Linked DNA regions of Homo sapiens: all the other regions are linked to region 1. Evidence: promoter capture Hi-C in 16 types of primary human blood cells and fetal thymus (Javierre and others, 2016). All regions are on one chromosome and are shown on one strand. Each heading gives the region's core, a stretch centred on a gene start or on the middle of the fragment in contact. The rest is flanking DNA. Distances are from core to core; before and after follow the strand shown. Region 1 holds the start of MYL12B (myosin light chain 12B). Region 2 has its middle 2.1 kb from the start of ZBTB14. Region 3 holds the start of YES1 (YES proto-oncogene 1, Src family tyrosine kinase).

Region 1 (3,324 bases), core at 390-2,889:
ACTGCCAGACGCACTGGTGCGGTGTCTCTCACCTGTAGTCCCAACTACTTGGGAGGCTCAAGTGAGAGGATCGCTTGAGGCCAGGAGTTCCAGGTTGTAGTGCATTATGATCACGCCTGTGAATAGCCAGTGCATTCCAGGTTAGGCAACATAGGGTGACCCCATCTCTAAAAATAAAACGTATCAAATACAACTGAGGAACTAAATTTAAGTTTAGCTGCATGTGGTTAGTGACGATTGTATTGGACAGCACAATTCTAGAAACTTTTTTTTTTTTAATTTAGACTATCGAACCAAAACCTAAGAGTAAATATTGTAGAACCAGGTGTGACTTTTCAGCAATTGCTTTTCTAACACTATTGAGAAAATACACACAGTTATGAACCGCGTTTAGAGCTGTGCTGCTGGGATGGCGACCACCCCATCAGCATCATGTGTGCTTACCAGAAATTCGAATTATCCTCCACCCCTTACTCACTGAATCCTGATACCCGGTTTTGAGGCTCAAAAATGTTTTTAAAAGCCCTGTTATTATGCGTGCTACTGTTTAAGAACTGCTACAGAGTGCTGAACACAAGGTCCCTCTCTTCTAGGAATTTCTGATCAAAGATTTCTAGAATATAAACTCCCTAAGAGGCTTTGAATTCATCTCTCAGCATCCGGCACATGTTAAGGCAGTAAGAAGAGTTCAATAAAGATTTGCTATTAGATTGCCGATCCTCCACCATCCTGAAGTAATGCTATTTTAGTAATGCTAGATGAAGTAATGCTAGATTACCTCAAGGTGAGGGAAAATATCCTGAAGAACACAGCCACAAACACGATCTAGAACAAAACCTGAAAAACGTAGCTTTGTGTTTTTATTTGTGTGTGCATGTATGTGTGTGCGTTGCCATTTTCTTGATAAAGGAAAGCAAGTAGTTCGAATAAAACTTTCTTGTGGCCAAAAGGGGAATCAAACAGCCGTAGGCTGCGGCCGTAGCCTGATACGGCCGTAAACCTTATGAGGGTAAGCAGAGAGGAGTAGGTTAAAGAATTTAACTCGGGCTGTAATGCGGTTTGAAAAGAGAAAGGGATTCTGGAACGGAGAAGAATCCGCCCAGGCGCCGCCCTCACCTTCTCAACATTACATGAGACGAACCCTAAAACCTGTCTTGTCTGAAATTCAAATTTAGAAGAACTGTACTTTTACTTGCTACATCTGGCAACTCAGGGTTCGGCGCCAGGGGACCCCAAATCCTAGGCGGATCGCGCCCCGCCTGGGTCAAAGGGGACCCCAAATCCTCGGCCGATCGCGGCCCACTCGGGTCAAATTCCAGCGGCCTGCCCAGCCGCGCCCAGCGGGCCCAGGAATGCGGAAGGGTGGCGGAGCTACCAAAGGAGCGGGGGACGAGGGCCGGGCTGCGGACGACCGCCGCAGCGCAGGCCGCGATATCGCAGCGGATCGGAGCAGGCCGGAGGGGCAATTAAGACCCCGGCCGTGTGCGTCCGGCCTCAGCAGCCCCGCCGCTCGGCGGACACGCAGACCCCGCCGGCCCGGGCGCGAACACTCAGCGCACCCCCGTTCCACTTGGTCCCGCCGCGCCTTCCGGTGCGCCTTCCGGTGCGCCTTCCGGTGCGCCTTCCGCTCCGCCCCTTCAGGCAGGAAGTGTCGGCGCCGCCACTGTCCGGCCACAGCCTAACGCTCTTCGCTGTCGTTTGTGGTCTCGCGCAGGGCGGCCCCGGTTCTGGTGTTTGGCGTCGGGTGAGTCGCGCTCGACTCTGCTCGCGAGACCCCTCGGGCCGCCGTCTCCGTACCCCCGCGCCCCCTCCCGTCGCGCGCCTGCGGCCGGACCCCGCCCCAGGGCGGCCAGGCGGCGGCAGGACCTGTCAGACTGGCTGAGAAGGGGGCGCGGGGCCGGAGGTGGAGGGAGGAGGGTTGGCGGCGGGAGGAGGGTTGGTGGCGAGGCCCTGGCCCGGACGTCCAGGGGCCGGGAGGCTGCAGGCGATGGAGCCGGTATGGGGAGACGCCCTGCTGGAGAAGTGGCCGGGTCCCGGCCGTGCGTGGGCCGGCCCTGCGCCACCTGGGTGACCTCAGACACCTGGGCCTTGGACGGCCCGGCTGCCCGGCGGCCAACGCCTGCCCTCCCGGCGCCGCGGCGGGTCCTGGCGGTGGATTGGGGCCGACCCGGGCGTGTTCGTGTGGAGCACCTGCCCTGTGCCCAACACTATCCTAGATGCTTTGGAGGGTGGAGGAGCCTCCTGTTGCACGGTCTTGCCTAAGGTGAAGCCTCCAAGGAAGCCATTAGCATGCCGGTAACCGAGTGTGTGGTTGATACGGGCTCAAATGTGATGATTTACATAGAGTTGTAATTCGCTCAGTGTGTCTTGCATCTTGTAAAGGTTTAGTTTATTCGTGTTGATTGAAGAAAGGACCATTAACAGAAATAGGGAAAGGTTACTTGGAAAAGAGTCGTGACCTCACTGAAGGCCTTGGATTCAACCTTAAGAGGGAGAACTTAGCGTTTCCGGCTAGATGTGTGGGAGGTGGTAACGAGCAAAACTCAAAAGCTGGGAATTGTGTCCTGTGAAAAGCAGGCCGTGGGGACACCGGCGGGTATGGAACAGAACTGTAATGACTAATAGTCGGAAATAAGGGTAGATAGGTAAGTAGGACCTTCTTATGGATGTCTTGAAAACTTAGGAGAAAGAAAAGATTATCTAAGAAGCCATAGAGAGTAATTTTGGAGTCTTCACTAACGGAGTAATAAGAAAGGGATGTTTAGAGGATTCGTTTGGCCGCTTTAGTTTAAGGTAGATTTGGAATGGTCTTTTGGTAAGAGAAGAATCAAAGCATTTAGAATTCAGTAGGACCTGATAGATTACCTTGTGAAGGCTTTGCGTTTTATAACTGAGGAAAGTGAAACCCAGAGAGGTGAGGTAATTTGTCGAAGGTGGTGGACCCTCCTGGACTTTATAACTAAGAGCACTTTTGAGTGCTTTAGGCTCTTTTGAGTGAAACAGCTTTTATGATGGCTGACTCGATGTTCGTTTATGCTTTGATGAAACTAAGCTTGAACAAGATGAACTGCAATTTCTGAAGGACAGATGTCCAGACAAGAGTTGCTAGGGTTAGGAAAGAACAGGATTTAGAGCCCCGACATGGGGCTAGTTTTCCCTTTCTCCCAAGATTCAAAGGCTCCAGGTATATCTGGGGATGAGTTTATCATACCCTTTTTGCCAGCATCTTTGTGATCTTCCTTCCTCATTCTACACATTAGCTTTGGGGTGTCATTGCTTGTTATGCCCAGGTATCCACATTTTCATGGTAGAGAATTTCAGCTG
Region 2 (3,270 bases), core at 771-3,270, 2.0 Mb after region 1:
GTTAATCCGGGCCCTTGCCGACGCTTTCGTTGGAGACTACGGGGCCGCCCCCGGAGGGCCCTGGCCTGCGCACGCGCGCGCACGCGCGCGGCTTGGGGCGCGCGGAGCCCGCGCGCGGGAGAAGGAGTGGGCGGGGCAAGGGCGGGGCTTCGGGAGCCAGGGAACTTAAGCACGAGCGCTGCTCGCGGACACCCGCCCCGCCTCAAGCTCCCTCCCGCCCTGGTTCGTGGGCTTCCGCCCGCGCCCGGCGCCGGCGCAGCGCCGGGGACGCGGGAGCCAGCGCTCCCGTGCGTGTGCATGTGCGTGGGCCAGAGCCTCCCCCGGGCGCGCGCAGGCCGGGCGCTGAGGCTGCGGGGCTCTGCCGCGTCTCGGAGCGGGCGCCCCGGCCACTTTCGCCCTCCGCGCACACCGGCCGACACCGGGAGGCGCGCCCACGGGTCTGCGGTCTTGCCTCTTGCCGCCGGCACATTGAGTTTGTGGGGGAGTGGACGGTGCACAATAAACACTTGCAGAACAAATGGAAAAAGCGACGTCTTCGATTTGTAGTGTAAAGCGCAACCCCAGTTGCCCAGCAGAAAGGGATCACCCATAGGGCTTCGGAGCTAGTAGGTCCGCGCCCGGACACTCCAAGGAAAAGTCCAGGGGCTGGAGGCGGCGACCCGTCTGTGGCAGTCCAGACCCTGGACTCGATTCGGAGAGCTCTGATAACTTGGCTCTGTCCTTAACATCCCTGCTCAGCGCCAGTAATGGCTCCGTTGCTGTTGAACCACGTCGCCTTCCCTCTGACGCGGCGGCTGTGCCTGTGTCTGGCGTCGGGAGCTGGGAAGTCCCTCCCGCTCCCGCGTTTTCTGCTCACCGAGATGCAGGAGGCCGGACAGCAATGCCGCGCCGCCTTAGAGTCGCTCATGTTGCTTTACCTCACACGCGAAGTTTCCCCGAAACGCGTAATTTAATATCTAAAGATTAGAGCAGAAGCTTCCTCTTGGGCTTATTGAAGATGACATAAGATAGTGCTTGCAACAGGCACCTAAGTAAACATTTGGGAAATAATATGATGATTGGATGTGTTAATTTTCTAAAGGAAGTTCTATATGGCCTCAGTTGATTTTGTAATGTTAATTGACTTTGGTTTAACGTTCCCCAAGGCGACTTTATACGCATCTTTTTTGATGTTCACAAAAGCACCCAAGTTACGGCTTATATGGAGGAAATAGGATGGAAGAGACCGGTTGTAGAGTCAGACATATCCAGTTCACATATTGGGTAAATTGTTTAACTTCTCTAAACCTCAGCTGAAGGAGAGCTATGGAAAGCACCTAATAAGGCACTTGTAAGGATTAAGTGAAATAATGCCCAGCTAAGGTATTAGCTCCATGATGGAAAATCACCTGCACCCACAGATAGTGGGTTCCAGTGGCCTGGACAGAACCAGAACCAAGTCTTCTGCCACGAAAGTTCACACTCATCAGACATGATACCGTGTACTCGCTTTATTCTTGTTTGCGTAGCTCTTGAAGTTGCATTTCAATCCTGTGGATGCTGTGTGTTTATAGGGGGATAATAATAGTACTCTGTCATAGGGTTGCGTCACCAAGCAGTAAAGCAGCCACTGCAGTTAGCACAATGTGTGGACACGGCCAGTACTCAAGTCATGGCGCATCTGCTGCTGGCGCTCCCCCTTCTCCCATACCACATATGGGGTTTCCCACTCATTCTGCGTGTATTTTTGGTCTGCCTACTGTGTAAAGACAATCTTTTCGCATATGGCTAGGAAAAGACTTCCCACGTTTCCACTAACCCGATAACATAATTCACAAGAGTTCTAAAGCACTAGAATGCATTTCTCAAGTGACGGTTCCTGACATCCTGGTTTTGTATCAATGAATCCTCTTGTCTCATTTGTTTTATGTTCATGTCACCTGGGCTCTGCCTGGCTGTCCCTTGCTGGTTCACAGGGGTTGTGGGGATGAGTCTAAATTAAAGGGACAACTCTGTGGGAAGGTGGAGGGATGGGAAACCACAAAGGAAAGGCCTGACCCAAGCCTGGCTTCTCGCCTGTGTCGCCACCCAAAAGTGCACTTCCCAGCACCCAAGAGGCTTTCAATAAACATCAGCGGACAGTAAGTGACAACCTTGAATTTGATACTAAGGGGCTTTGTAAAAGTACACTGTGGCGTCAACGCGGGGGCAGGGCTTTCCTGAAATGCACTGACCCAAGGTCCTTGACAAAGTTTTCCTCCTTTTCCGACAACTCTGATGGGTGACATTTGGAGCACGTTGTTCCTCACTTGGGACACCCATGGCCTCCTGAGTGGAACCTGTTTCTAAGAATTGTGAGGCCCAGGCCATGGGGCCCGCAGTGTGCAGTCCCGGGTGCCAGGGTCTGATGTGGTTACAGAGCAGCCCAGTAAGGGACCGTTTGGAAACATTATGTCTCACAGGCGGGGGAGGTTGATTTCTCCCTCATGTTGACCTTGGGCCCTCTGGCTGGTTTTGAAACAGCAGGATACCAGCAGATGAGAGTGGGCCGGGTCTGAGTAGAGGTTTTGAGAGCAGCCTTTGTTCTGCGCCTCCTCCTCTGCTGTGACGTCCAGCACAACACGACCATGGTTAGGCCACAACCCCCTCTTCAGCTTGGGCCCTTGAATGACAAACAGACCTGAGAATGAAGCCAACCCAAAACCTGAGCACAGCCAAGCCTAGAGAGAAGACAACTCACCCACAGACCTATGACTGAGAAGTAAATGTTTGTTTTATAAGCCACTGGGAGGTTGGGTTTTATGCTTTGTTACTGAACAAAATCTAATACATCTGTGCAAGGAAAAGTGTCACACCCAATGCCATAACCACCTTCCCCCTGTGACTCTGAGAACACTTGATACAGCAAATGAACAAAAACCCGATCCAATCCGTGTCATCATGGAGATACTGATGTGCACATTCAACAAATAATCACATCGTTACACAATTGCACATTGCAATAAGTGTTTTTATAGAAAGTTAAAAAACACAGAATGTGATGAAAAAGAGGAACAGGAGGAATTAATTTTGCCTGGGAAATCAGTGAAAGCTTCTTCAAAGGCATACATTTAAGACCTGAAAGATGAGGGAGAGATTCGCAAAGAGGGGGAAGAAATAGCATTTCAAGACAGAGACAGGAACAAAGTGAATGCAAGGGTGGAAGGAGCTTGAAGTACCTCAGTCTCTGCAAAAGTGGACATGAGATGTGTTTGTGAGAACAACAGTGTCCAGCACCTGTAGGGCCTTGTG
Region 3 (3,104 bases), core at 556-3,055, 2.4 Mb before region 1:
GTCAAAGCTGTAATTTCACTTTCAGATGAACAGAAAGGAATCAATTTTGTGGTTTATGAAGTCAGCAAAACCTAACTACGAAATTAAAGCCATTATAACATTACAGTGGTTACAACAGAGTATATATTTTAAGAGCCCTTTTATCTTTTATCCTGGAAACATGGATATAAACTGTTTTGTTTTCAGATCAAAGGCAATTGTCTTTTTCAAATGTAGGACCCTCTGAATTGTCAACCAGCATTTAAAATCTCCACCGACTTTTAGCTAATGTCCAAAAATAAAAATACAATTTAACTTCCTTTCCTTACATGTCAATTGTGGCAGGGGTCTCACACTTATAAGCAAACAAACAAAAACCAAAAAACCATATATATTATTTGCTAAAGTAAAACTTTCTTACTGTACAATATATGAACATCGTAAGTGATGCATACAAGATCCTTGGCTAATACAAGATACTCCTTTATTACCTGACCATTCAAAATGCTTCCTGTCCACCGTGTGCCAAGCACTGTGATAGTTAAGATATTAGATTTACCATGCACTTTTCCTTAAATGCACAGTCACGTGTATACATTTAGTAATACTTTCCTTAGTGCGTAATTTAACTTTAGAAGTGTAACAGGATGGTTTAAATATTTAAAATTATCAAGGTATCTTTGGCACTGTAATCTTACAGTTATAATACATGAAGATACTATAATCATATCATGTGAAATCGACTGTGAAAACACACACCCGTGGAACGTATATACATAATAAATGGACATAAAATTGTGCTTCCACCAAAGACTTTCATTATTTCCTTTAGTAATTTATAATTATACAGTATGTTATTCCACGCCTGTATCAATTAATTATGCAGAAAATGATTCAACCAAATCCGAACTGTTAAGTCCTACTCATTACAAAACAAAAACTAAAGTCCCTACACCAGACTTGATTTTCAAAGAGCTTCTTAAAACAGCTCTGCCCCATGCCCAATAAAGTGAAAGCTGGAAGCAATTATCAAGAAGAAAAACACACTTTAAGACAATTTTCTTTAACACATGTGGACAGGGAACCGAACGCAACGGGAGGCGGAGTGGCATGATTCCGTAAAAGTGGACGCTGAATGGTAAATTTCCCAACCCCCAACCCAAAACAAAGGAAAACTTTAAACATGTTGCGGTTTTCAATCAAACCAAGTAAAGCCAGAAAGGCTCATCCACTCGCCCCACACACCCGCTCCTCTCCCCGCACAGCTGCTACCGGCGTCGGCCGATACACAGACCCCCAGCCTTTAGGACCCAAAGGGGCCGCTTCCCTCGCCCCTACTTCGGCCGTAGGGGCAAAAATAAACCTCTCCTCCCCGTCGCCGGGCGGTCCACACGACCCCAAAGACAAGGGGTGGGGAGTGTCCCCACGCCCCTGGAACCTCAGGTCGGACTTGGGCGGGACCCGGCAGGTCTGGACAGGGCAGAGACCGAGTCAGGGGCGAGCAGGTAGCGCGGGGAACGAGACAAGCCCGCCGGGCGATCCGGGGGAGGGGAGAAGTTTCTTCCCAACTTCCCGACTCGGGCCCGCGGGGGCGGGGAACCGCGGCGGCGGCGGCGGCGGCGGCTCCGGGCGCTGGGGCCTAGCCCTGTCCGGGCAGAGGTGGAACCCTCCGCCCGCGGGGCCCCACCGGGTCCTTACCTGTCCTCCGGCCGCGCTCTCATGAGTCGCTGCTACCGCAGCTCGAGGTGGCGGAGGGCGGAGGCGAGGCCCGCGGGCCCTCTCCCTCCTCCACCTCCTCGTCCCGGGGCGCCCGGCGGCAGCAACGACGGCAGAGCCGGCCCGGGACGCGTTACTTCAGGAGGAGGGAGTTCCCGGGCTCCCCACGCCTCGGCCTCACTCTCCACCTCCTCCGCCCCCCCCCCCCGGCCCCGCCCCCTGACTTCTAGCGGGGGCGGGGGCTGCGGGTACCTGCGCGCGCCGCCGTCCGCTCACCGGAACTCGGGCCACGCCGGCCCGGCTCCGGGGCCCCCAGCCTTCCGGCGCCTACGCCCCCGTCAGGTCCCCTCCGCGGGCTCCGGGCCGCTTTGCTGTGGTCAGGATAGGCGACCGGTCCGTGTCACTTCTCCCGACCCAACATGGCGGCGGGGTCCGGGGCGGATTCCCGGGGGCGGTGCAGGCCGAGGGGGCGTGAGGAGGAGGTGCTTCCCTGCCCGGAGAGCAGGCCCGCGGCGTCCCTTCCCACCCGCGAACCCACCGACGCTCGGCTGCCGCGGAGATTGAATGGAGCGCTCCGATTCTGCCCCTCTGCCTTTCTCTGTTCCTTGGCCCAGCTCTCAGTAGTGGCCAGGGCTTTGGGGCTTGCTTTTGTGGGGGAGGACGGGGTTGAGTTTTTTTGGTTGGCTGTTTGCTTCTCAGCGCTACGCTTCCGCACCCTTTGTCGTTGGTAGTAAAATCTCAAGCCCAACCGCGTGAGCCGGGGGCGTTACTCACACCCTCATCACCATCCTGATCGCCGTCCAAAAAACGTTCACGTCTTGCCTCCTTCCGAGGCAGGGATCCTGTCCCTGCCCCCAGGAGCTTCCTGTTGACTGTAGGTCGAACCAGCCTTGCCGGGAGGGGAACCGAAGCTGAGTTCTGTTTGGCGACTATCCCAGTCATGGTGGCTTTGGCTTATGTTGGGACAGCGTTTTTCTATATGATGCTGGCGGCAGCCCAGTGAGGGAAGTGCAACAAGTATGGTTCTCCTGCTTGTCAACTGTGGAAACAGCGACCCTGAAAGTGGAGGAGCCACAGCTGGAATCGTGTCCGTCTGAATACACGCACCTTTCCTATGAGCCTTGTAAAGCCAGTCGTTGAAGAAGGGGGAGGACCCGGAAGGATGGGGTGGGGGCGTAAAGATGAAGGTTAATCAAGGTCCTCATGGACTGAACCTTGAGGCCCTTCTGCTGCAGTCACTTTTGCCCTATCAGACTTTTAGAGTAACTTCCTCTCTTTATTTCCTCTTTGGTGGGGTTATCAGAATTATTTTGTGACTATTGGTTTCCTTTGCGGTTTTTAGTGAAATTCAGAATCATCTTCGACGGATAGGAAATAGTGCAATCATATGTGTCAGTATTCCGGTATTC

What was found. Contacts are between HindIII fragments. The CHiCAGO score rates a contact against its expected background, and 5 or more counts as called.
Region 2: a fragment that was not itself captured here is called in contact with the fragment with the promoter of MYL12B in region 1 in 2 of 17 cell types (naive CD8 T cells and non-activated CD4 T cells); the score reaches 6.4 in naive CD8 T cells.
Region 3: a contact is called between the fragment with the promoter of YES1 here and the fragment with the promoter of MYL12B in region 1, in 2 of 17 cell types (activated CD4 T cells and naive CD4 T cells). The highest score is 7.4, in activated CD4 T cells.

The regions. Positions count from the first base shown.
Region 1 is chr18:3,260,494-3,263,817 of GRCh38, forward strand. MYL12B (myosin light chain 12B) reads left to right here and starts at 1,640. Exons shown (of 4, transcript NM_033546.4): 1 at 1,640-1,744. It overlaps MYL12-AS1 (MYL12A and MYL12B antisense RNA 1), which reads right to left and starts at 1,866. Exons shown (of 4, transcript NR_130145.1): 1 at 1,560-1,866; 2 at 779-837. RefSeq lists an enhancer at 1,036-1,085 and a silencer at 1,296-2,185. The HindIII fragment of the contact is 3,443 bases long and covers 1-3,050 here.
Region 2 is chr18:5,296,156-5,299,425 of GRCh38, forward strand. It overlaps a transcript of ZBTB14 not described here. Among named protein-coding and RNA genes, the nearest start is that of ZBTB14, 2.1 kb to the left of the region's middle. RefSeq lists a silencer at 1-409 and enhancers at 217-902, 620-779. The HindIII fragment of the contact is 2,095 bases long and covers 974-3,068 here.
Region 3 is chr18:810,437-813,540 of GRCh38, forward strand. It overlaps YES1 (YES proto-oncogene 1, Src family tyrosine kinase), which reads right to left and starts at 1,806. Exons shown (of 12, transcript NM_005433.4): 1 at 1,678-1,806. RefSeq lists silencers at 1,413-1,502, 1,573-1,632, 1,683-2,192 and enhancers at 1,924-2,466, 2,467-3,008. The HindIII fragment of the contact is 10,737 bases long and covers 1-3,104 here.